7 separate regions of the Homo sapiens genome follow, and regions 1, 3, 4, 5, 6 and 7 are each linked to region 2. The links are contacts of gene promoters, found by promoter capture Hi-C in blood cells and fetal thymus (Javierre and others, 2016). All regions are on one chromosome and are shown on one strand. Each heading gives the region's core, a stretch centred on a gene start or on the middle of the fragment in contact. The rest is flanking DNA. Distances are from core to core; before and after follow the strand shown.

Region 1 (2,700 bases), core at 158-2,657, 840 kb after region 2:
TATTTTATACTCAGTACCTGTTTTAAGAAAAAAACAAGGAAGTGAAATCAAAGACAGGCAGCCTGGCCCCAGGCCCAAAACCACGCCCGAGCCTGCATGGCCTAAACCTAGTAGTTAAAAATCAACTCATGACTTAGAACCCGATGTTACCCATAGATTTCAGGCATTGTATGGAAGAACATTGTGAAACTCCCTGCTCTGTTCTGTTTCACTCTGACTACCAGTGCATGAAACCCCGTCACATATCCCCTAGATTGCTCAATCAATCACAACCCTTTCATATAAAATCTTTAGTGTTGTGTGCCCGTAAAAGGGACGGAAATTGTGCACTCGGGGAGCTTGGATTTTAAGACAGTAGCTTGCCGATGCTCCCAGCTGAATAAAGCCCTTCCTTCTACAACTCGATGTCTGAGAGGTTTTGCCTGCGGCTTGTCCTGCTACAAGAGCAACAAATTTAAAGTGAGTAGGGCAAGCTTCACTGAAAAAAATGACTTTTGGAAAAAAATTAAAGCAAGAAAAAGGATTCCTTAGATTTTGGACTAGCAATGGGAACAAGTGTAAAGTCCCTAAAGCACAGGTGTGCCCAGTGTGCCTAACGAATAGCCAGAAGGCCAGTGTGCATACAGCAGGAAGAGAAAGAGAAAAAAATAGGCAACAAGGTCGAACAGGTCACAAGGGGAGCAGATCATGCTGGGCCTTATATGGTCAACATAAAGACTAGCTTTTCTCCGAGTGATACAGTACATCATTGTTTTGAGCAGAGGCCTAAGATTATTTCAATTAAAATTCTAAGGATCATTCTACTTGTCATGTTGAGAATAGATTGTAGAGGATGAAAAGCAGAGGCATGGGGATGAGTTGTAAGTCTATTAAAATAATCCATGAAAGAGATAATGGTCACTTGGGCTACAGCGATTAATGATGGAAATGAGGAAAGTGGTGAGATACTAGATAGAGTTCGGAGGTAAGGCCAATAGGATTTGCTGAGACACTGGATATGGAGTCAAGGTTTTGAAATGAGAAAATATAATGGACAATGCTAGTTAAACGTAATTAAGAATCTAACATATGGTCATGCTTCAAAATACCCTGGACCAGGTAAATATATCCAAAAGTCTCTCGGAAGACAAAGAAAATAAAGTCTTTGCAACCAAAAGGAACTAAAAGGACCTTTTAGTTGTCTTGAGCAACTAAAAGGAAAAGAGAAGAGTCAAGGTTATTGTCTTGAACAACTAAAAGAATGACACTAACTGCCTTTTGCTGCAAGGACTGTGAGAGGTCTGTGGCAGAGAAAGGGTATGTCATGAACTCTCTTTTGGACTTACTTTCTAACAATATGCCGTGACGAGTATGATAAAGCCTAAGTGAAACAGTATGAGAATTCCTAACACCTAGAGGGTAAATGGAGAGGTCTCATCTACTAATGGAAAAGAAGAATGAGCCAGATGTTTGGAAAACATTCATTCTTTGTTATCTTGCAGTGAGTTAATTCTCAAGGGTTAATCACAAGCAAATCACTTTCTGCTGAACTCAGTGTTTTATGCTGTCTTACTATTAGGTTCAGTCTCCACAAAGAAAACTCTTTGAATTTAAACAACAGCAAGTGGAAAGGAGAAAAAAAGAGAGGAAACAAGAAAGACTGCTGGCAAATCAATATAATTTGGGTAAAAGAGGTATTATACATGCAGATTAGAATAAGGAGGGGAGGAGAATTTACATTCAAGAAAAAGTGTCAGACACAATAAAATGACAATAACGAGAATTTATAAAATTATCCTGCCCTAAAATCTTCAAGCCAATATAAATTTCAGACTTTCATATCTAAATTGAACCAATCTACATTAAGACACCCTACCTTTACCATTATTGTTCCATTGCCAAAAGCAAATACATTTGAACTTCTCCCAAAACACCAATTCCCACGAAACCCTTACATTAAGCAAAAAAGAAAGGCAAAGCTAACTACATTTCTATTTGCTCTGTTTTTAAGTTGCTTAATTTCTCTTAAACCACAGGCAAGCATTAGTATCTACAGCAAGACTAGTGAATAAATAAAAGGGCGAAACAACAAAATCAGAGGCCAAACATGTTAGGAAACAAAACTCTTAGGCTTACCCCAAATGAATGTTACTCCACTCTCCAGCATAATTAAAAACTCCTCAAAGTTAAATCTTCACTATAGATAATGATTTTTTAAGAATAATCTTTTTCACACTGTCAGAAAAGGTCTAGAATAAGTAAATAAATAATAACAAGAATGATCTTTTAAGTACTGTTTTGCATTTACTCAAAATAACAGTGTGAGTCATGGCTCTACTTTCTCATAATATAAGAAGCTTTTGAGGTCAGGCATGGCAGCTCATGCCTGTAATCCCAGCACTTTGGGAGACCAAGGCGGGTAGATCAACTGAGAGTCAGGAGTTCGAGACCAGTCTGGCCAACATGGTGAAACCCCGTCTCTACTAAAAATACAAAAATTAGCTGGGAGTGGTGGCACACGCCTGTAGTCCCAGCTACTGGGGAGGCTGAGGGGGGAGACTCGCTTGAACCCGGGAGACGGAGGTTTGCAGTGAGCCAAGATCATACCACTGGACTCCGGCCTGAGTGACAGAGCCTTTCAAAAAAATAAAAATAAACAAATTTAAAAAGCAGCTTTTTTAAACCAAAATGTGAATAAATGTGACTGGTCAGAAAATCTTG
Region 2 (2,700 bases), core at 58-2,557:
GGCAGTTTTTTTGAGAGTTCAATTTCAAACCAAAAAGATCAATCAAAACAGCTTCTGCCATCCTTGAAAGAATACTTTTATGCCAAATAAATCACCTGCAAATAAAAATTAGTGTAAGAATATAAGATTATATAAATCTTATAGTTACAACAGAAATTTGTGGTAGATTAAAAACGAAGTAATTACACTGATTTTAAAATGTAACTAAAATAGTAAATCTAGGCCCCTCCCAGAAAAGCCAGTCTACTCTGTCACAACAGAACCATGACAGTGAAAGCAAAGCCATCTTTTAATTCGTTTTGTGAAAATGCTGGTACATCTTTCCAGCAGCACGACAGTTCCTCTGTTTTGTTTACACAGAACTTTTGAGTAAGGAATTACTTGTGGAGTTTAGACAAAGTCCTGTTTTTAAATTGCAGAGTGTCAACCTGTGTGATATATCATTAGTCCTGACATGATTGTCATATTAGGTCTCATCCTTTCATATGCGGGGGCTTAAGTTTACGAAGCTAAATGGAGCTGCACGCGAAATTCGCGTTTTAAGATGATAAAAGCTGAGATGGCTAATAGAGTTCCCTTCAGGATTTGCGCAGTACTCCACACTTAGCAATGACCACAAAAGCTATAGTGATTTGGATGAGACAGGCTTCCTCTCAACTTTCTTAATTCATTCTCCCCGTGCAGCTTTGCTCACCTCCAGCCCAGCCCTCCCACCCCAACCTGCGGGGCTCCGGTGACCCCCTTTGGTGACGCCCTTTGCCCCAAGAAGGTTTTCTCCTGCCGCTTCCCCTAACCTTTGCTCCCCATCTCTCGGGGCTCCCTCTGAGGTTCATTTAGCCAGTTTTGAGTGGGTGACCGTCCCCCCTTCCCTGTTCATTGTGAATTTCCGCCCAACGTGTGTCGCCGCCAGGTCCCTGTTCCTCCTACCCGCCTCGGCTCACGGGGCGCAGGCTGTGGCTCTGCACCTGCCCGGGCACCTCCACCGGCGGCTCACAGCCCATTCGGGACTTCCTGTCGGACAACGCACACCAGAGGCGATTCGGTCCTCGCCTTCCCGCTCTTCACCTTCGGTTGCACACCGGTCTACGGCGACCTCTGTGACAATTTGCCGCCCCGTCCCTCGTCCTGAGCCTCAACGAAATTGGGCAGCCGCGAGCGGGTCAGCTGGAGTCGTAAGCTCGGCCCAGCGCGACGACACCCGCCCCGCCTCACCTCGCCCACCTCGCCCACCTCGCCCCGCCTCGCCTCGCCCCGCCTCGCCCCGCCTCACCTCGCCCCCCTCGCCCACCTCGCCCCGCCTCACCTCACCTACCTCGCCGCGGCCGCACAGATTCCCCGCCTGATACCGTCCCAGGATCCCAGGGGAAACCTGACGGCCAGGTTCCCTCGTGCCAGCTGCCGGGAGGCGGGAGGGAGGTAGGCCAGGGCCGCCTGGCGTGCTTGGTGCGAACGCGGCGGGCCCAGCGCGAGAGCTGGGGAATCCCGGGATGAGCCAAGCGCCGCGAGCCCGCTGCTGCCTCAGCAGTTCCGGGTCTGGGCGGTCCGCGGAGTCGGCATCCCGCAGCCCCGGCGGCGTTAGAGGAACAGGAACCAGAGCCGCGCGAGGGCTCTCGCCCGGGAGCCAGGCGGGTTAGCGGGCAGGAGTGGGCAGGCCGAGTCCGGAAAGGGTCGCGAGGAGGCAGCTAGGGGCCCCTTGAGGAGGGATAGGGCGGCGGAACGACGGGCCCTGGGAGCGGGCGCAGGGCGGCAGGAGCTGCAGGTCTCCAGAGGGCACGGGGCGGGGAACTAGGGGCCCGGTTAGAAAGCCGGGCGGCGGGAACGGCGGGCACCGTGAGGGGGCGGCGGGAATGGTGGGTCGCGTGAGGCCGGGCTGCTGGAGCGACCTCGGGACTAAACCGCAGTCTCCCTTCTGCTAATGGAAGCCGTTTCCCAAGCGAGCTGAAGTCCGCGTTTCCGGTCTCTGAGGGACGCCTCGCTGACCCAGCAGTGTGGTCAGGACGCTGGGTTTCCTCACCGCAGCCCAGGGCCAGTCCCTTGTCATGCTAGCTCTTGGCAGCTTTTCCCATGCAGGGCTCAAGTCAGGGGCCCCCTCGAGATGTTTTAGTGTTTTTTTGTTGTTCATTTGTTTCCAGAAACAAGCTGTTGTCTCTCCTCCAATGTCTTTGTGCTGATTCTTGCTGACCAACACTCTTCCGAGCGCCTTCACTTGTGTTGACAACACGGATGTCCTCTATGGCCTTTTAAAATATGTGCCACTAGCAGGACTTAAGTAAAAGGCGCTCATCCCTAAAATCATGATAAAGGTGCAGTTTAGCATCCCTGATCTGTCCTCCAAGAATATAACGTTCATTTATTTGAAAATAGCAGTTAGGACATGGAAGGCCAGTGTATGGTAAAGGGAAAAAATATCCGACCTTCCAAGAGTAAGAGAAATGGTGCTTCCTGGGGAACTGGTTATGATGGAAGGAGAGGTCCCTTTTATCTTCATTGTTGCTCATTTGGTAGGCGCTAAAGAACCTTTGTCTCATAATCTCAGATAGCTGGGAATTTGGAAGAGCCCTCTGGGGTAGGCATGTTCTTGTGCTTGACTAGAGACTGGGAGCACTAACCCAGAATGGAAACCCACCCTTCAATAACCCTAGCACCAGTTATGTCAAAATTCATGTTTTCTTTGGTCATTTGTTAAAGAGCCCCGAGCGG
Region 3 (2,700 bases), core at 172-2,671, 890 kb after region 2:
GCAGCCCCAGTGTGGGGATTAGGAATATGGGCTCTGATGCTGGGTAGACCTGGGTTCAAGTTCTGATTATGCCATCACTTGCTCTTTGAACAAAATCCTTAGCTACTTTATGCCTCAGTTTCCTCATTACTTAATATAAGACAATACCAACTTCATAGGGTTTTAATTTTTCCACGTGTATATGTGTAAAACATAACTTTATTCCTGGTAAAGTACTATGCTGTCACCCTTAAGTCGAATGTTTGTGCCTTGTTAAAAAAAAACACTGGTTTAAAACACCTACTTGTGGTCGGGCGCAGGGGCTTGTGCCTGTAACCTCAGCACTTTGGAAAGCCAATGTGGGAGGATTGCTTTAGTCCAGGAGTAACATAGGGAGTCCCTTGTCTCTCCAAAAAAAAAAAAAAAAAAAAAAAAATTTAAATTATCTGGGCACGGTGGCACATACCTCTGTCCCAGCTACTCAAGAGGCTGAGGCAGGAGGATAGCTTGAGCTCAGGAGCTCCAAGACTACAGTGAGCTGTGATTGTACCACTGTACTCCAGCCTGGGCAACAGAGTGAGACCCTGTCTCAAATAAATAAATAAATAAATAAATAAACCACCTATTTGCATAGAAAGAAAGTATACTAGTAAAAATCTGTGGCTATCAATATATTAAATTATTCTGAGTACCTCTGATAGACTCTCAGACAAGATTGAGTTCTTTTTTTTTTTTTTTGAGACAGAGTCTCGCTCTGTCGCTCAGGCTGGAGTGCAACAGCGCAATCTCAGCTCACCACAACCTCTGCCTCCCGTGTTCAAGCGACTCCTCTGCCTCAGCCTCCTGAGCAGCTGGTACCACAGGCACATGCCACCATGCCTGGCTAATTTTCGTATTTTTAGTAGAGACGGGGTTTCGCCACATTGGCCAGGCCGGTCTCAAACTCCTGACCTTGTGATCTGCCTGCCTCGGCCTCCCAAAGTGCTGGGATTACAGGCGTGAGCCACCGCGCCTGGCCAAGATTGAGTTCTTGATGGAATTTGGATTTAAGTTATTATAAGTATTTACTAATTCATACTGGCTTTCCCAATTATTTTTACTTGGTGATTTTTGTCTTGTCCTTAAATATCAAAGCTGTCTACACAAATTAAAAGAGAAAAAAGCTTACACAAACTTCTAATCCAAAGTAAACCTTTATCCTTCCTTTTAATATTCTGCTTGTTTGTAAATATTTTACATTATTTATATCACCTCTAGATAAATATAAGACAAAGACATGCATTTACCTAGTTTTATCCAATTCTGGGAAATGGGGTCTTGCCTGTGCTGGTAATATAGGGTTGAATTCACATTCATGTACTTGTCTAACCATACCTGGTCCTTTAGCTTGATGCTGTTTGAAGAAAATAAAAATATATTTTGAAAATGAACCTATAATATGGAATTTTATTTTACAGTTAACTTGAGCTGAATTTGTATGTAAATTATGTTAATCTTAACATTTTTGTGGCCTACTTCGTATTAGTATTGTAGAGACTTCAACATGAGCAATAATAATAATAGCACTTACGTAGTAGCTAGTATGTAAATGCACACTATGTATACTAACTCTTTCAATCCTCATAACCACCATGGAATGAGAGGATCTCTAGCTTAAAAGAACTAATTAAAAACTAGGAACAAATAACTATTCAACACAAAATAAGCCCTTATGAAGCTTACTGTCTAATTGATGGGACAGACATTTATTAATATGTGAACAAATATGTATACTTTAAAGCAGGGGTATCCAATCTTTTGGCTTCCTGGGGCCACATGGGAAGAAGAATCGTCTTGGCCCCACACAAAATACACTAACACTAATCATAGTGGATGAGCTTAAAAAAAAAATCGCAAAAAAACCTCAATGTTTTAAGAAAGTTTATGAATTTGTGTTGGGCCACATTCAAAGCCATCCTGAGCCACCTGGGCTACATGCACCTTGTGGGCCCTGGGCTGGACAAGCTTGCAAGGAAAGCTGGGGTCTCAGCTGGTCTTGGGAGCAGGAAGATCTTTCCTTAGAGGTGACGTTTGAGCTTTGGTCTACAGGATCATTAGGAGTTGTGTGGTTTTTTTTTTCCTGACATCAAATATGTCATTCTAACACCAACTAACTGTGACCCCAACTAGGTGTCCCACAGTTCAATTCTAACACTAACTACTCAGAGTTAGTGTGGACCCCACAAATTAAGGGCTCAGTCCCACAAAACTGCCCCCCACTTCAGACTTCAGACACTAGCTGCAAATGGAGTCTCCAGGCTACCTGTATGTCTACCCACCAGACTACAAAGTTGGGGGTTCCCATGCATCTCCCCTTCCCCAGTTTTGATAATTCATTAGAGTGACTCACAAAACTCGCAGAAATTACTATATTTATGATTACAGGTTTATCATAAAGGATACAACTCAGTCAAGTGGAAGAGATGCGTAAGGCATCTTTTGGGAGATGAAGGGGTAGGTGGTGGGGTGTGAAGAGTTTCCATACTCTAGGTAGATACTTTGATGTGTTCGCCAACCTGGAAGACCCCCAAACCTTATAGTTCAAGAACTTTTATTGAGGCTTTATTACCTAGGCATAATTGATTAAATCAGTGGCCATTGGTGATTAAATCTCCAGCCCCCGCCTCTCCCCAGAAACTGAGATGGGGCTGCAAGTTGTTTTTTTTTTTTTTTTTTTTTTTT
Region 4 (2,700 bases), core at 137-2,636, 600 kb before region 2:
CTGCCAGCATCATGGACCACGACTGTAGATATATCCAGCCTTCAGGGTGGGTGGAGTTAGGTGGGCTCTGTTGGTAAATGATCAGCACCGAGTATTGTTCCTGAGCATAGTAGATGCTTGTAAATATTTGAATGAACAAATGAAAGTGTCTGTATCACAGTTATTACACTGACTGAGGCTAGTGTTCTCATCACACGCTAATTTAAATTTCTATGTCAAATGGTAAATAGCTCATTCCTTCCTGTGTTCTCTGGGACTTTGCTTTATCAGGATATATCATCTCTTGTTTAATCTTTTCCACTTTATTGACAACCTAAGTGAACCAGAACCACCCACCCCTCACCAGTTACCTGTCTTCCTCATTTTACCCATTCATCTACACTGCTGTGGTGTGGCTGTTCCTTTTTCCTTACCACCTCCCACCCCAAGCTTTTTCTGCAGATGTCACCAATGACTTCCTAACTGCGAAGTCTCAAGCCCCGAGGATCCCATTTCCATCCTTCTTGTCTCATTTGATCTCTCTGTATCTTTGGCATTGCTGCCTGTTACTTCCTGAAGTTCTCCTCTGTTGGCTCCAGTGCACCAGTCTCTTCTGGTTCTCCTTCTGTCTCTTGGCCTTCTCCTTTTCAGTCTCATTTACTATTTGTTTGGCTTCTCTCCCCAGCTCTCTTAAACGTTGGTGTTTCCCTAGGTTCTGTTGCTTGGCCTCCCTTCTTTTTATAGTAGGTTTTCTTTGTACTCCAGCGACCCAATTTATCTGTGGAACCCAATTCAGCCGCTCATAACACAAGGGGAAGAGGGTGTAGGCAGCAGCCCCCCATAATCTCTATGACCTGTTACACATGAAAGCTTCACTGAGTAAGCATACAATCTATGTAAAACAACCAAAAAACAAACATTTATGTAAAAGGAGTGTGGTTAGTATGGAAACTTGGCCTCAAGAAGTGTCTCCTAACCCCTGTCCCTGGACTCCTTTGTAGAAATTCTAGAGTTGTCTGGAGTGTCTTCAATTTCCCTGTGAACATATCTACTTGGATGTCTCCTCCAAACAGCCTCTTATTTATTCCTGTTTTCACATAATCCACCCCTCCTGTATTCTCTCACAGCTACTAGTACCAACATGTACTCTACCTTAAGCCCAAACCCTGCATCATCCTAAATTCTACTTTATTCTCAACAGCTGGTCCTGGGATCGCTGCTGCCTTCATCTCTCATCTGTGAGAGAATTTCCTATATTATAATTATTTGATTCATGTCTATTTCTTTCATTAGAATCTTTATGTCCCAGGCACCTACAATTTTTATAGTATTAAGTGTTCAACTAATACTTTTATATGTAAAAATGAATTTATCAGCAATCACTAATTCCCAAGGAATTAATAGCATTACCCTGTTGTCTTAAAAAAATGCCAAAACCATAAGAAAATTGATTTTCCAATCTTAATTTTTTAATGTTAATGAATGTTAAATTCATGCTATATTAAAATGAAATACTTTTAAGATCTTTGTCTTTTACAGTTGCTCAATTTAAAGGAAAGTTTTTTCAGGTGCTGTTGATAACATTTTGGAACTTGTACACATCTTATACATTCAATTTAAAAAAAAGATCCAAACTTATCAGTCTTGTTATTAACACTATTTTTCAAATTTAATATTTCTCAGTATTTATTCATTGAATGCTCTCAAATGGTGGCTTAATAGTTTCATGTTTGTTAAATACAGAGCTGTGTCTTCCATCTGCTATTTTTGAAATAAAATTTTCATACAGCAGTCCTTGATAGGGCCAGCCTAGAATCATAGACTTTTTCCATTTTAGTCCTAAATAAATAATAGGATGGCATGCTGTAGATTCTGAATAGTAACAACTTATTTACCTGATTTTTCATTGGTTTGAGTATTTGATACACAGAAATTGAAGCTTAAACTTTTATCTAATCTTGTTTTAACCTTCTGAGAAGACTGTGTGTCCTTAGTGACTCAGATTTAGCATACAGGTGATGAGTTGTCTCATTTGGTGGCCAGTACTTACTTTTTGTCTTATTAGGTTGAAAGCTATCTCTTCTTGAGAATGCTGGTGTATGTGGCTGGTAACAGCTTGCCATTTTTGTTTAGTTGCTTTTACTTTCCTGAAACCCAGGAAGCCAGATAATTAAGTTTTAAGGATTATACGATATACAAGTCAATAATTTTCTAACAAGATCTTAAAAGCACAGTATATTGCTTTGGTACAGTGGCTTTATGAGAGCTTTTTGAACTGTTTAGAGTAGGGGTGTCCAATCTTTTGGTTTCCCTGGGCCACGCTGGAAGAAGAATTGTCTTGGGCCGCACGTAAAATACACTAACACTAATGATAGCTGGTGAGCTAAAAAAAAAAAAAAAAAAATCACAGAAAGATCTCATACTGTTTTAAGAAAGTTCACGAGTTAGGCCGCATTCAAAGCTGTCCTGGGCCATGCCCGTGGGTTGGGCAAGCTTGGTGTAGAGGTTGGTTTTCATTCTTCAAGTTTCTAGACTGTGTGCTAAAGGTTAGGGTTGCTGATTCTAGATACACAGATGCATTTTCCATTCATAGATAACCTAGTTCTGGTGTTTTTTAGTATCAGTCACTCTTGTGTAGTTTATTTCATTGGATCTGCTCCTAGGGCCATCTAGGACCAAGTAAGAGGGCTTAATATTTTTTATTCAGTAATATTCAGAGAC
Region 5 (2,700 bases), core at 160-2,659, 910 kb after region 2:
GTAATGGACATTTGAAACAGGTCTCATGAGGAGATAAGGGGAGGCGCTGGAGTGACAGAACTAATTTCTCTCTGGCGCCCCCTGCTGTCGTGCAGAGTGAACATTTAGGAAATGAGCCCTGCTCCCCAGGAAGCCGACTCTGCACAGTGGTCTGGAGTGCCTGAAACCAGAGCAAGGGTCTCCACCTGTAGCACCGAGCCCTCATTCCCTAGAGTCGCAGTAAGCTTGGGAGCATTGAAGATAAAGCGAGTATGGGCATCAGAATTCTCTGGGGATATGTTTACCTATGTGTGGAAAGTTCTTATTGACGTGAAAATATTCTAGTTTTGCACACATTTTCTATAGGTAACTTTAAAAATTAACTTGATATAGAGTTTTAAAAATGCCAGAATGGTAGGAAAATCTATACTTCTTTTAGTAGGAGCCCAGGTGGTTTTTCAAATTCGAACCCTCTGTGCTGACTCTTGGTGAGAATGTGCCACAGGGCCGGGCCCAGGATGACCTGTACGGGTCAGGGCTGAATATTGTGTTTCTAACCTGGAAGCCTTGTTCACTCATGCTCACATATAGTTAATTGCCTTCTAATAGTTGTTTCTTATGCTTTGAAGGGACTGGTTTTCTTTTAGAAGTCTAATAATTGACGATTTGATATTTCTCGCCTGGCTTAGTTGCGGAGCAGGAGCTGGCCAACCTGGAGAAGTGGAAGGAGCAGAACAGAGCTAAACCGGTTCACCTGGTGCCCAGACGGCTAGGTAAGCAAGCACAGCCGCTGCCGGAATGAGGGAGGGCGGGGCCACCTATGGATCCTGTAAGCAGCTTGCATATGTCTGTCTGTGAATGTCCATTGTAGTTTGTTTGGTCATTGTGCTGCTTGGGTGGAATGCATTTAATTGTGTGTGTGTGTGTGTGTGTGTGTGTGTGTGTATTTTTTTTTTTTTCTGATTTTCTGCAAGTAGCAAACCTGTAATGCCAGAGTTCTATGGGAACACAGTGATGGCTTAATTGCCAAATAATTTAGAGCCTCTTAGATGATTGACTCTGAAAAAGCTTACCTGGGGCGCTGCATATGCCCTGTCATAGCACTAGTCAGGATGGGAGTAAATGCTGGCACAAGCATATTAATCATGGCAGTTAAATGTTAATCTGAAGAAAAGGAGTGGAGAGTCAGTTCCAAGAGGGAGATGAGAGTGAGCTGGAAACCCGGTGGTGGGTATAAGAGAAACATCACCTGTGTTTTTATTCTACAGATAGAGACCTCTGGGCCTCTGGAGCAGGTGCTGCCAGTGTGATGAATTGTCTGGGCCGCCTTTGCCGGTGTTTGAATCATTCAGAAGGGATGCCACCTAATGGGAATCATTCACATCTTTTCTTTGCTTTTTCTCTTCTATCAGCAGCCGAAAATTTAAAGGGTTGGACACACAGTGTCCACAGATTTAGTTAATACAAGCATGTCTTGTGTCAGGGGCCACTTACGGTTGTGATAGTTTTAGAGAAGTTCCCTCCCCACACCCTGCCCCCCCACCAAGAACATAGGTAAAAATAATCTAATTTGGAAATTATTTAATGGGAGGAAGTAATAGTAATATTATCATCATCCCACTGTATTTCGTGAAAAGGGCTAATCTCAAGTGCCTCCTTTGTGCAAATGAGCCAGACTCGAAGGGTACAATCAGAAAACAGCTTTAATCTTTCCTAGCTTGGCCCCTGAGATTGGCTATGTGAGAACAGTCTTTCTCAGGCTTTTTGGATGATGTAAGAAATTAAAGCTTTTTGGTCTCTTTCAAACAGTAGAGTGACCTAGCTAATTCTAGGCCTAAAACAGTCTCATTTCAGTAATTAATGTTCAGTCTTAGGTACTGATCAAAATTCTGTTACTAATGGAGATGAGAGCTTCTCCCCTGCTCTAACCCAGGCCTGTTTCAGGTAGGAATCCAGCAAGTAGAACAGGGTGTGGCTGGACTTTTCTCTATTCATGGCTCTGTTCCCAGATTCTGACCTTTCTGGGATTGAAGGGGGAAGTGGAGGGAGATAAGAGAGTTCGGGGTTCGTAATGCAGTGATCCTTGTTTCTTTGAGCCTAGGTTTACACTGACTGCTCGTTCTTCTTCCTGGGAATCTTCGAGTTTTTCAGCATCCCCCACTCTCTGCTACCCATCTCCCACCTGGATTTCCCTGATACAGACGATTTCCTCTCCTGTCGGCAGGGCTTGGCCTCACTGTTGGCTCTTGGTAGACTCCTTTTAGGGTTCCATTGTTCTTGACATGGCCCTCATAGGCAAGTCCCTTTAGATGGCTTTAGGTTGGCATTCTCTTTCATGAGAATCACATTAAAAGTACAGGAAATACTTGTGCATTCTTTCTTTTCATAAACTGTGAATGTGGGCCATTTGTAATGTAGCTACCTCTTCTTGAGGACTCATCTCAGTGGCCAATGGACAACAGCCTTATACCTTTAGGCTCTAACTGTTCTAGGCATGAATCCAATAAGACCCTCAGACTCTTAAAAATGCAGGTTGAGGTCTCCAGCTGATTTTCTTTTTTTTTTTTTTTTTTTTTTAATTTATTTTTTTATTGATAATTCTTGGGTGTTTCTCACAGAGGGGGATTTGGCAGGGTCATGGGACAATAGTGGAGGGAAGGTCAGCAGATAAACAAGTGAACAAAGGTCTCTGGTTTTCCTAGGCAGAGGACCCTGCGGCCT
Region 6 (2,700 bases), core at 185-2,684, 580 kb before region 2:
CAGGCTGTTCGTACTGAGGGGTGCCTGCAGGTTTGCATGGAGCTGCCCTCAGCCCCACCCTGGCCTTCTTCCTGCACTTGTCGGTGCCCAAGGTCCAGAGGGGGCCGAGGCAGAGTAGGGGTGGCTGGCATGTCAGCTGCTGCCCCGAGCGCACACACACACCTGGTCGGACAGCGCCCAGGCTTGGCCATAACTTTGCTGCAAAATCAGAGCGGGCACTGGGAGTGGGGAGAGACCAGAGAGCAGGATCGGGCCCTTCCAAGCCTGTGGGGGAAGTGGGGCTTCCTGGGTCCCCGAGAGCACAGGGATGCCCAGGTCTGGAGGTACGGCTGGGCAGCTGCAGCTGTGCCTGGGAGTGCAGGCTTCTGTCCTGCTAACTTGGTAGGGGGTGGGGCTCCCGCCTGTTCCTGGCCCTTGCTGTCTCTCTGGAGCCTGCAATGCCCGCCGCGCCTCCCCAGCTGCAGCCAGCGTCTTTGCAGTGGCTGCTCTAGATGGGCTGCTGTTGCCATCATTATGAAATATGTATTATCACTTCCATTTTACTATGAATAAGTGATTTTTGGAAATTTGAATTAGGCTCTAACTCCAGTGCTCAAAATCTGACTCTTTAAAAAGCTGCACTAAAGTCAGTACTGATGAAGATGTTTTATAATTGCATTTATGGACTTAAATGGCTAAAACAACATCATAGATGCTTTCAAAGGTTGTTTGGAAATGATGCTTTAGTTGGAATTAAAAAGGAAAAGGATCATACTATTAAGAGAACATTAAGAATTTTTGCTGATAGAATCACAGTGAGAAATTAGGAGGATCAGATTTGATAGAATATAGTGACTGGAAAGGCTTCAAAGATTTCACCTATCTGTTTCAAAAGTGAAAGTAGATCCTAGAACTTGTTCTACTTTTATATGAGCAGACTTTGAAATCCTTGGAAACTTAGTTTTCTAATTCTGTCCAAGAATATGAAACAGTGTCAGTTGACAGATCTGATGTATGTGTAATAGATAACTATTTCATCAGAATTGAAAGTTTGACCCAATATATAGCCACCTTCTTCAGTTAGCTTCTGTATCACTGCTGGAAATTCTTTTTGCAGTTTTCTTAGGTGAGCTCTCTGCTTCACCCTACAACCGAAGGCTTTGGAAATCATAGAGATTTTTGAAACTACTAAACCAGCCACTGCTAGCACAAAAGGAGCAAATTCTGCAGGATTTAGCGATTTCCTTTTTATATAAATAGTGCTTTCTCTTTGATTCTGAGAAAAAGTATTCCTTTTTTTTTTTTTTTTTTTTTGCTATTTGCTTTTCAGTACATATATTCAACAAGCTTTCTTTTTCTTCTGTTTCTTTAGGGGTTGCTCTTTTTGCAGCCCTTGAAATTGCTTTACCAATAGGCGTTTCTTTTATTTCCATGCGTTGTTTGTGAAGGCCCACAACATGAATTTTATTTCTGTTGCTTGGGAGATACCACATGTTCTCATCACATATTCTCTCATTTCTTTCAAAATGCCTTATTTCTGGCTTCTCAATATTTAAAAGCTTTTCTTTTGTGCATGCTGCTTGATGTTTTTGATCCAGTGTGATTAGACATATTTGAGATGTTGAATGCGTGTTTTTATATAGAAAAGTTATCCTTTGCGAAAGAATAGCAAAACATAATTTTGCAGAGTAACAAACGTGCCGAACTGAGGTAGCTGTTACATGTTTGAGATATGTGCTGTTTGCGTTTTCCTAGGTGCAGTTTTGGTTCAGCTGGGTGCAGTTTCCTGCGTTCACCTGATGTTTCTCACAAACAAAATCACACATAAGCAAATGTGAAATGTGCATTACGCTCAAATTGTTCTCTAACATATGAATTGTGTTGGAACAAATTGGTGTTTTCCAAACAAGTTTTATAATGGAACAGATTGTACTTGATAGGCTCTGTTAATTTTAAAAAGCCTGATCTGTAGTTCTAGGAAGTTTTCTTGAATTATTTTATGACACTTTTCTCCTGTCCATATTGCACATTTCTGAAACTTCTTTTGTTAGGGTGTTAGCCCTTCTAAATATTAATAGCTGTTATTTATTTTCTTTCCTGTATTAACCTTTTTGGTATTTTGTTCTAGTTTCTGAGATAGTTCTTCAACTTTACTTTCTATTCTAGCACATTTTCACTTATGCTCTCATATCAATTTTTCAGTTTCCAAGAGCTCTTTCTAGTGTTCTGAATGTTGTCCTCCTCTTATTTTATCCATGTAATCTTTTAGGATTTTACAAGTTTCTTCAGTTCCCTACACTGTCTCTGTTTCCTCTAGGTTCCTTTTGACTGAGTGTTGGCTATACTAGAGAATTGTTAGTCATTGTGAAAGGTGAAGCCGGCTGGGCTTCTGGGTCGGGTGGGGACTTGGAGAACTTTTCTGTCTAGGTAAAGGATTGGAAACGCACCAATCAGTGCTCTGTGTCTAGCTAAAGGTTTGTAAACGCACCAATCAGCACTCTGTAAAAATGGACCAATCAGCGCTCTGTGTCTAGCTAAAGGTTTGTAAACGCACCAATCAGCACTCTGTAAAAACAGACCAATCGGTACTCTGTAAAATGGACCAATCAGTGCTCTGTAAAATGGACCAATCAGCAGGATGTGGGCAGGGCCAAATAAGGGAATAAAAGCTGGCTACTCCAGCCAGCAGCAGCAACCCGCTCGGGTCTTCTTCTCCGCCGT
Region 7 (2,700 bases), core at 200-2,699, 860 kb after region 2:
AGGCTGGAGTGCAGTGGCGAAATCATAGCTCACTATAACCTCAACTCCTGGGCTCAAGTGATTCTCCCGACCCAGCCTCCCAAGCAGCTAGGACTACAGGCTCACACCACCACACCCAGCTAATTTTTTTTTTTTTTTTTTAGCAGAGATGGGGTCTCCTGTGTTGCCCAGGCTGTCCTCCAAACTCATGGCCTCAAGTGATCCTCCTGCCTGGGCTTCCTAAAGCGCTGGGATTACAAGCCTAAACCACCACTTGGGCAATATTTCATATTGAATGTTGAAAATTACCATGCAACTGTGCATATATCAGGTTAAAGAAAATACATGGTTAAAATCAAACCCACCTGTTTCTCTTCAGTTGTTTAATATGGCTACAAAAAACTTAAAAATATGCCGGACGCGGTGGCTCACGCCTGTAATCCCAGCACTTTGGGAGGCCGAGGCGGGCGGATCACGAGGTAAGCAGATCGAGACCATCCTGGCTAACACGGTGAAACCCCCGTCTCTACTAAAAATACAAAAAATTAGCCGGGAGTGGTGGCAGGCGCCTGTAGTCCCAGCTACTTGGGAGGCTGAGGCAGGAGAATGGCCTGAAACCGGGAGGCGGAGCTTGCAGTGAGCCGAGATCGCGCCACTGCACTCCAGCCTGGGCGACAGAGCGAGACTCCGTCTCAAAAAAAAAAAAAAAAAAAAAAAACGTAAAAATACGTATGTGGCTCACAATATGCTTCTGTTGGACAGTTTTCTGTTAGACCCTTCCTTTTTCCAGCTCTACAGTTCATCCTGAATACACCACTTGGAGTTTCCAACTGGGCCCTGTTTCTGTGCCGGAGACTTTGGAGACAGTAGTCCTGGTACCCGAAACACTTTTTCCCCTTCTCCTTGCTGAATGGACTGTTTTTATTCATTCAGATCTTAATTTTTAACTACAGCTTTCTCCAAGAAGCGTCCCTGATCCCACCACGTCCCCTGCAAGACGTTTTTAGGGCCTCCTATGAGATAGGAAAATCCACATACAGCACTTATTTTACTGTATTTGCAATTGCCTGTTTTCTGGTTTGTGTCCCAGACAAGACTGGAAGCTCCTTGAGGAGACAGATCCTCAGAACTGCTCCGTCTTCCACGCCCAGGCGTCAAAGCCCAGCACAAAGCGGTCTCTCCACTGAACAAGTGAGCGCTAGGGCACAGACCGTGAGCGAATGCGGGGGAGTACAAAGGTTCAAGGGTGAGGCGGTAGAGGGGGCTGAAGCAGAAACTACAAGGGAGCCAGAGAGGGGTGGGGGCCGCTGGCAGGACTCACCAGTCTCTGCTGGTCGACGTCGGCGTCTGGCCGTTTGGCCGAGGGCTGCAAGTACTCAGCGTAGCGCAAACTCTCGCCAACTGGAGCGATGACACCACGGGCAGCCATGGCAAGGCGGCCCGGAGACTCAAGGCGCCGCGGCAGTGACTACGAGGCGGCCGTAGGGACAAACTAGTTAGCGCGGTTTCTTCTCGCAGATCCAGTGGACTCTGCGCTCGTTGTGCTATTAAAGGCGAGGTTCCCGGAAGATACCCTTCTCACCCGAGCTGGGTAACGTGTCCCGTGCAAGCACGGGGTCACACTCCGAAAGGAGCCAAGGGCACTGGGACGTTCTTGAATCACACTCACAGGCGCAAAGCCAACGCGGACCCTCAGGGAGCTTTATATACTTGGGCCTGGTCCCTCCCCAGGCCGCCGTAAGGGACTGGGCTTAAGCCCTGCGAACTGATGTTGGTCGAATCAGATGACTGCCCAGTAAGCTCGGAGTCTAGCTGTAGTGCCTGAGGGTGGGCTTGCCTGAGCTTTCCTGACCCCCTTCCGGGCAGCCTTTCTTCCCACTCTCAACTTCTGTTCGCACTTCTGTTTAATGCCACAGTTCTACCACCCCGGGAGAGAAATTAAAGAGGCAATTTGCTTACTCCACCCCCAAGTAAATGGCTGTATTTAAGGTGAAATTACACAGAAGAAAGTTGTGGCCGGGTGCGGTGGCTCACGCTGTAATCCCAGCACTTTGGGAGACCGAGGCGGGTGGATCACACCAGCTTGGCCGACATGGTGAAACCTCGTCTCTACTAAAAATACAAAGATTAGCTGGGTGTGGTGGTGCGTCCCTGTAATCCCAGCTACTCAGGAGCCTGAGGCAGGGGAAAAAAAGTTGTGAGCAAGTAGGTAAATCTTACTCTCCCTCAAATGAGTTTGTGCTGATTTGTATATATAAAAGCCCATTTTATTATTAAGCTTTTTTTTTTTTTTGAGATGGAGTCTCGCTCTGTTGCCCAGGCTGAGTGCAGTGGCGCAATCTCTGGCTCACTGCACCCTCTGCCTCCCGAGTACCTGGGATTAAAGGCACGTGCCACCACACCTGGCTAATTTGTGTATTTTTAGTAGAGACGAGGTTTCACCATGTTGGCCAGGCTGGTCTCAAACTCCTGACCTCAGGTGATCCGCCCGCTTCAGCCTCCCAAAGTGCTGAGATTACAGGCGTGAGTCACCGCGCCTGGCCTCCATCAAGTTTTTAGAGCAAAAATTAACCAGCAGTTGAAGCGTATGGTGTTTTCCAACTTCTGTACCAACGTGGCAGCTCTTTGGCTCCTTATACCCTTTGCAAAATCAGCTGACAGGAAGAAAAAGCTTTATTTTTTTTCTATTCCTGAATTTAAAGTTTTGAGGGTCTATTAATT

What was found. Contacts are between HindIII fragments. The CHiCAGO score rates a contact against its expected background, and 5 or more counts as called.
Region 1: a fragment that was not itself captured here is called in contact with the fragment with the promoter of CCDC122 in region 2 in 2 of 17 cell types (monocytes and M1 macrophages); the score reaches 10.3 in monocytes.
Region 3: a contact is called between a fragment that was not itself captured here and the fragment with the promoter of CCDC122 in region 2, in 4 of 17 cell types (M1 macrophages, M0 macrophages, monocytes and 1 more). The highest score is 6.9, in M1 macrophages.
Region 4: a contact is called between a fragment that was not itself captured here and the fragment with the promoter of CCDC122 in region 2, in 4 of 17 cell types (fetal thymus, activated CD4 T cells, naive B cells and 1 more). The highest score is 7.0, in fetal thymus.
Region 5: a contact is called between a fragment that was not itself captured here and the fragment with the promoter of CCDC122 in region 2, in 14 of 17 cell types (monocytes, total CD8 T cells, naive CD4 T cells and 11 more). The highest score is 10.8, in monocytes.
Region 6: a fragment that was not itself captured here is called in contact with the fragment with the promoter of CCDC122 in region 2 in 1 of 17 cell types (naive CD4 T cells); the score reaches 5.2 in naive CD4 T cells.
Region 7: the fragment with the promoter of DNAJC15 here is called in contact with the fragment with the promoter of CCDC122 in region 2 in 17 of 17 cell types (M2 macrophages, M1 macrophages, monocytes and 14 more); the score reaches 33.7 in M2 macrophages.

What each region holds. Positions count from the first base shown.
Region 1 is chr13:43,043,052-43,045,751 of GRCh38, reverse strand. The region is part of intron 1 of DNAJC15 (DnaJ heat shock protein family (Hsp40) member C15); the gene reads right to left. Among named protein-coding and RNA genes, the nearest start is that of DNAJC15, 21 kb to the right of the region's middle. RefSeq lists enhancers at 1-4, 105-154. The HindIII fragment of the contact is 1,863 bases long and covers 476-2,338 here.
Region 2 is chr13:43,878,347-43,881,046 of GRCh38, reverse strand. CCDC122 (coiled-coil domain containing 122) reads left to right here and starts at 1,307. Exons shown (of 7, transcript NM_144974.5): 1 at 1,307-1,416. It overlaps LACC1 (laccase domain containing 1), which reads right to left and starts at 1,143. Exons shown (of 7, transcript NM_153218.4): 1 at 928-1,143; 2 at 1-95. The coding sequence starts at 61. RefSeq lists a silencer at 1,256-1,405. The HindIII fragment of the contact is 5,095 bases long and covers 1-2,700 here.
Region 3 is chr13:42,986,748-42,989,447 of GRCh38, reverse strand. The region is part of intron 1 of EPSTI1 (epithelial stromal interaction 1); the gene reads left to right. Among named protein-coding and RNA genes, the nearest start is that of EPSTI1, 4.1 kb to the left of the region's middle. The HindIII fragment of the contact is 554 bases long and covers 1,145-1,698 here.
Region 4 is chr13:44,479,006-44,481,705 of GRCh38, reverse strand. The region is part of intron 1 of TSC22D1 (TSC22 domain family member 1); the gene reads left to right. Among named protein-coding and RNA genes, the nearest start is that of TUSC8, 74 kb to the right of the region's middle. The HindIII fragment of the contact is 1,069 bases long and covers 852-1,920 here.
Region 5 is chr13:42,967,146-42,969,845 of GRCh38, reverse strand. It overlaps EPSTI1 (epithelial stromal interaction 1), which reads left to right. Exons shown (of 11, transcript NM_033255.5): 3 at 669-752. Among named protein-coding and RNA genes, the nearest start is that of EPSTI1, 24 kb to the left of the region's middle. The HindIII fragment of the contact is 719 bases long and covers 1,050-1,768 here.
Region 6 is chr13:44,456,231-44,458,930 of GRCh38, reverse strand. The region is part of intron 1 of TSC22D1 (TSC22 domain family member 1); the gene reads left to right. The region is part of intron 3 of LOC124903167 (a long non-coding RNA gene); the gene reads right to left. Among named protein-coding and RNA genes, the nearest start is that of TUSC8, 52 kb to the right of the region's middle. The HindIII fragment of the contact is 212 bases long and covers 1,329-1,540 here.
Region 7 is chr13:43,022,335-43,025,034 of GRCh38, reverse strand. It overlaps DNAJC15 (DnaJ heat shock protein family (Hsp40) member C15), which reads right to left and starts at 1,449. Exons shown (of 6, transcript NM_013238.3): 1 at 1,301-1,449. The coding sequence starts at 1,408. RefSeq lists enhancers at 951-1,000, 1,511-1,560, 1,571-1,630. The HindIII fragment of the contact is 4,162 bases long and covers 1-2,259 here.